2 separate regions of the Homo sapiens genome follow, and region 2 is linked to region 1. The links are contacts of gene promoters, found by promoter capture Hi-C in human tissues and cell types (Jung and others, 2019). All regions are on one chromosome and are shown on one strand. Each heading gives the region's core, a stretch centred on a gene start or on the middle of the fragment in contact. The rest is flanking DNA. Distances are from core to core; before and after follow the strand shown. Region 1 holds the start of COL27A1 (collagen type XXVII alpha 1 chain). Region 2 overlaps COL27A1 (collagen type XXVII alpha 1 chain).

Evidence for each region. The method cuts DNA at HindIII sites, captures the fragments that hold promoters and counts their contacts. A contact is called where the count stands out against the background at its distance.
Region 2: a contact is called between a fragment that was not itself captured here and the fragment with the promoter of COL27A1 in region 1, in 7 of the 25 tissues and cell types used here (bladder, lymphoblastoid cells, mesenchymal stem cells and 4 more).

The regions. Positions count from the first base shown.
Region 1 is chr9:114,154,246-114,156,872 of GRCh38, forward strand. COL27A1 (collagen type XXVII alpha 1 chain) reads left to right here and starts at 1,292. Exons shown (of 61, transcript NM_032888.4): 1 at 1,292-1,767. The coding sequence starts at 1,706. LOC105376225 (a long non-coding RNA gene) reads right to left here and starts at 23. Exons shown (of 5, transcript XR_930256.3): 1 at 1-23. RefSeq lists silencers at 1,157-1,276, 2,164-2,458. The HindIII fragment of the contact is 14,734 bases long and covers 1-2,627 here.
Region 2 is chr9:114,194,980-114,197,606 of GRCh38, forward strand. It overlaps COL27A1 (collagen type XXVII alpha 1 chain), which reads left to right. Exons shown (of 61, transcript NM_032888.4): 7 at 980-1,033. Among named protein-coding and RNA genes, the nearest start is that of MIR455, 13 kb to the right of the region's middle. The HindIII fragment of the contact is 5,487 bases long and covers 1-2,627 here.

The sequences.
Region 1 (2,627 bases), core at 42-2,541:
GCCCCGTTTAGGGAAGGGGACCTCGCCCCCCGCCCCCGCGCCCACGGCTGCGGGGACCCATGAATACAAATGCCGTTAGGCGCCGGAGGAAGGACCGACCGGCCAGCCTCGCACGTAGGGACCCAGTAAGTGCTTGGGGGCTCCTGGAGCGGTGCGAAGTGTTATATGCCTGTGTGTGCGCGCGCCTAAAGGTGTGCGCGTATGGGGAGGTGGGTACACGCGTGAGGAGTGAATGCGTGTGTGCACATGTGCGGTGGGCACTCTCGGAGAACTGTGTGCAAGTGAGGGTGTGCGCGCGTGTGTCCACCCGGGGTGTGTACATGTGTGGGGGCGATATGGCCAGGATAGCGTGCATTTGTGCCTGTGTAAGCATCCGTGTGCATGCTTCTGCGAGTGTAGAGTATCAGCGTGCGCCTGAGCCCAGATATCTGAGGATGCGTTTCGTGTGAACCTAGGAAGGGTGCGTGGCTGTCCCAGAATGGGACCGTGTGTGAGCGTGTGTCTGAGTTTGGGGAAAGGGTGGATACGTGTGGGAGTGTGTGTGTGCACCGGTGAATAAGTGTAACTTTGCTCGTGAACGAGTGGCAAGAGGTGGTAGAGGCGGAGGGAGCTGTGGTCCCAGGGCTGGACTGGAGTTTTGGGTGTGAGAATTTGCCCGGGGGCCAAGGTGTGCAGCTCTTAGCTCCCGGATGGGATCCGAGGGAGTTTTTGTCGATTCTGGGGAGGTGCGTGGTTAGTGGTGGTGGTGGGGTGCGGTTAGATTCCAATTGCTGACAGAAGGGAGAGAGAGGGTGGCAAACCCTTAACAAGCCCACCCTATATGTTCTCCAGGGCGCTCCGAGTCTGGGAGCGCAAACTTTTGGTGGGCGGTGGGGATCACGATACTGGTTGTCGTGGGCGTCTGGACACCAAGTTCTGGTCCTAGCTCCGTCCCTGAAACTGTGGGTTTCTTCCAGGAGTAGAATTTGGCCCTTCTCCCCTACCCCAACCCCCCATTGGAGGACCCCCAGCCTCACCAGTCAGAAGTTCCTAATCTCAGAACGGTGATCAAATCACCGTGAAGCCCTGGGCAGCCCCTTCCTCTCTGTGAATCTGTTTCCCCATCTATACAAGGAGGAGGGGGGCGGGTGTCCCATCGGGGCTGTAGTGGGCCAGCTGAGGCTGTACCCTTGGCTCCGGCCGGCAGGGGGCAGCAGGGGGCAGCAGAGGGCGGCCGGGAGCGGGGAGGAGGGAAGGTGGAGAGCCACCGCGGGCCGAGACTTTAAATCGCCTTCATTTCCCCCAAATCCTTCCTTTTCCTCTCCTCCCCCAGGCCGGCGGGGAGGCAGCTTCCACCGCCCTCCGCGCGCCCTCACCCGGCCTTGCTCTGCCTCCGGGGACCGCCAGCAGCCCGCCTCCAAAAGTTTGATCATCTCTCTCTCTCTTTTTCTTGCTTCTTCTTCCTTTTTGGTGGAAGCAGAAAAGGACCGAGGCAGGGGCGAGCGCGGCGCCCGGACTCCTGGGACCATGGGCCTGGCGCGGGCGCCCGCGGGGCCCCAGCCGCGCTGCCTGCCTGCTCGGGCGCCCCTGGGCGCGGGGCTGCGCTGGGGGCGCGGGGGCCGCGCGCTCTAAGCCGGCCTGGCGCGGCGGGGCGGGGGGCTGGCGGCCCCATGGGGCGCGCCCACACTTGCCCCCCGGGCTCGGGAGCATGAAGTAGGGGCCTGCCATGGGAGCGGGATCGGCGCGGGGGGCCCGAGGCACAGCGGCGGCGGCGGCGGCGCGCGGGGGGTGAGTACGAACTCGGGGACGCCCCCTCCCTAGCTTCCTGCTGCTCCAATCTCGGGGAGGGCCGGGGTTCCCCGCCATGCGGTCGCTTCCAGCGGAACGTCAGCTTCCTGCCCCTTCCTGCGCCCCCGCGAGGCGGGACGCCAAGGGTTAATAGGGGCTGCGCCCCCGGCCGGGCGAGAGTTGGCGAACGCTGCCCGCCCTGCCGCGCCTGGCCCGGCTGCCCGATCCCGTTGGGGCGGGGGCAGAGCCAGCCCGGGGGTCGGGGGTGGGGGTGGGTGGTGGCGCCTGGAGCGGCCGGCGGGGTGCGGAGGGGGGCTTTTTGGATGCTTGGGGGAGGAGGGGGGTCTCCGTTTGGGGCCGTCTCGGTGTGTTCCGGTGTCTCAGTGTCTGCAGGTCCCAAGCCTGTACGTCTCCGTTTCTATCTGTTCTTGTGAAATTGTCCGCAAGTTTCTAGGTCACCAGGTCTCGGGTTCTGCTCCTGTCTCCGTGTCTGTGTGGCTCTGCACGTCCCCGCGTTTCTGGAAATCTCCGCGTGTTTGTGTTAGTCGGCCTGGGTCTGTGTGTCTGTGTTTCCTGCTTCTCGGTTCCTGTCCCTTTCACGTGTGTAAGAGAGAAAAAGTGAGAGCCAGCATGTCAGAGCAGAAAGGGCCCTGGGCGATCACTGTGCGGAACCCCTCAGTGTACAGATCGGGAGACAGGGCCGGAGAGGGGCAGGGACTCTCCCAGGAGCGGCTGCGCGGAGCTGGGGCCCAGAGGCTGGGATTCCCAGCGTGTGGAGTAGGAGTTGTAAGAGAGAGTGAGCCTGTGCTGGAGCCGGCGCAGCGTGTGGGTGTGTGTGGGAGCCAGCAGCATGCAAGCAG
Region 2 (2,627 bases), core at 49-2,548, 41 kb after region 1:
CTTCATCCGTCTCTGAAGCATCCACCCCATAAACTGAGCAAGGGACTTGGAGGGAGTGCAGGACAGATGGGAAGAGGGGAGCCCAGAACTCCAAATGAGATTGTCCAGTGTGTCAGTCTTCCAGGCACACACACCCTGGAAGCAATGCCCAGGTCTGCCTGACTTCCTTCTGGACACAGCCCCAGAGCCATCCTGATGGATGGAACACTGCTTCTCAGCCCAGCCTCCTGTGCTTAAAGGCACCTAGAATTGGCTGCTTTCTTTGATTTCCCCAAGACACGAGTTGCTTATTTCTTCACATCCTCACTGCTAGGTGTTTGCACTTAGCACATATTTACTGGGTGACCCAGGGTCCCAGGAGAGTGTTCCCATATACTACCACTTGACCCCCATCATACCCCATGAGCCAGGACAGACGGGCCCAGCTTACAAATGAGAAAACGGAGGCCTAGGCAGGGGTGGCTTGCTGGAGGTCATGCAGCTGATAAGTGGCAAAATGAGATCGGCACCCAGGAGCCCAGGCTTCCCTCCTGCTCCTGTGTGGCCTGTTCTCAGGTCTTGGGGTGGTGGCAGAAATGCCCCCTGCTTGGCCAGTGGCATGCCCAGCAATGGAAGGTGTCTTAGGACTGCAGGGAGAGATGGCTGATTGATATGGGACTGATAAGGCACATGTCCTCTGGAGCATAGTTTTCAAACGTGGTTTTAGTATCGGAACCCATTCTTCAAGTGGTGTCTTCTGCTGAAGCCCAGTATGTAAAATAGATCAGATGGAGCCGCTGAGTTGAGTGGGGAAGGGGCTGGGTACACCACTCACTCTTCTTGCTGGGCAGCCCCCGAGTCTCCTCTGAGGCCTCTACTTCTCTATGAATCTCATTTGGAAACAACCAGCCATTGGAAGTTACCATTCCAATTTGTAGAGTGTAGCAGAGTGTCTCTGCTCCCGTTTTCCTGCCTCACCCACCTTGTCTGTGTCTTCCAGGGTGACATGGGCTTGCCTGGGCTCTCCGGGAATCCAGGACCTCCGGGACGAAAGGTACTGTTTGGTTTTGATGCTTTGCCTTGCGCAGTGGGCCTCCTAGCAAGCCAGGTCTTCAGGCAGAAGAGCTGTGGGCCCACCTGCCTCTCCCCAGCCCCAGCCCAGCTCCCCTGGGCACAGGGTACATGGGTGAGAGGTGAGAGAGCTTTCCAAGGGTTGTGCCTGTTGAGGGCAGGGAATACCTCGGCTCGTAGTAGGTGCCTCCCACCACGGTTAATGAGGTAGCATAGGAAGTATCCTTGGTTTGCTGTCCTTCCTTTTGGGGGCCCAGCCGCTCCCAGGGAGGCCACCTTCAAGAAAGCCTGTGGTGATGGAGTAACCTGTGCTGGCCCTGGCTCCACCACCCACTGTCTGAGAGGCCGTGGGCCTGCGAGTCCTGTCTCTGCCCCTCAGCCTCCTCCTACATGAGATGGAGACAATGATCCCCGTCTCTGACCCTGCACAGTCTGGGGCTGTGTGACCAGGAGCAAGGCCTGGAGCGGAGAAGTTGAGGGAGTGGACCCTGGGGTCAGTTGGACCTGGGTCCTACTCCTGCTTCTGCCATTTCCTGGCTGGGTGACCTTGGGCAAGTCAGTGAGCTCTCAGAGTCTAATATGCGGCCCTCGCTGATGCTCTGCAGGGGAAGGGGAAGGGGAATGATCTGGAGAGGCAGTGGGTTCTCTCTATCTTGCTGGCTGTTGTTATGTCACGCCCATCCCATCCCCATTTCAGCCATGCTGGGGGAGTTACCTGTCCAAACGCCTGTGTGAGGAAAAGACTGGCATTTCCTGGGTAGTGGGTCTGTAACTTACAGTCCCCCTGGATTTCTGTGACTCCTCCAGCCTGTGTCTCCCTTCCTTCAAGACTCTACTCTAGTTGTGCCTACTCCAGGAAGTCCTCCTGGAGCACCCAGCTTCAGGCCATGAGGCTCCTCTCTGCTCAAGAACACTTAAGCTGTCTTGGCTTAGTTATTTTGAGCCACCAGGCATGCCTCACCAACCAGGGTGTGCAAATCTGGTTTATTGCTCTTCCTACTGAGCCTAGCATGAAGCCTGTGCATAGCAGGTGTTCAGGAAATGGGGGGAAGGCAATGCAGACTAAGGATCGATTGCTTTTTCCAAGAAAATCCCCAACCGCTGATGGATTGTCTGGTGAATCCATCGGCCTACCACTGTGTCTTAAGCTTCTGCCCTGGCTCCCAGCTGTGGCCACAGCTGAACTCTCTCTAGGCCATCTGGCTCTCATCTGGACAGCTGGGGTGTCTCCCAGCTCCATCCTGTTCTTGCCTTGAGAGCCCCATGACACAGGGGGCCTTGCAGGACCTCGTTCCCCCATTCCCTTCTCCATGGCCAGAGCAGGCCATACCTTCAACCTGAGAGGCCCACCCCAGAAGCAGTGGCTGTTTGTGAGCTGGGAAACATGGTCCTTTCTGGCTCACAGAACACAGAGGGACTTGCGCTCCCCACTTACTTCCTCTCTGGGCTCTAGCGCTTTCTGATGGATGAGGTGTGAGTGGAAAAGGCTCCTTCCGGTCCCAGCTCATAAAGCAGCCTCGGGTGGTCTTGTTCTGCATGGGGGTGGCAGCCTAGCAGAGGTGGCAGGAGATGGGGAA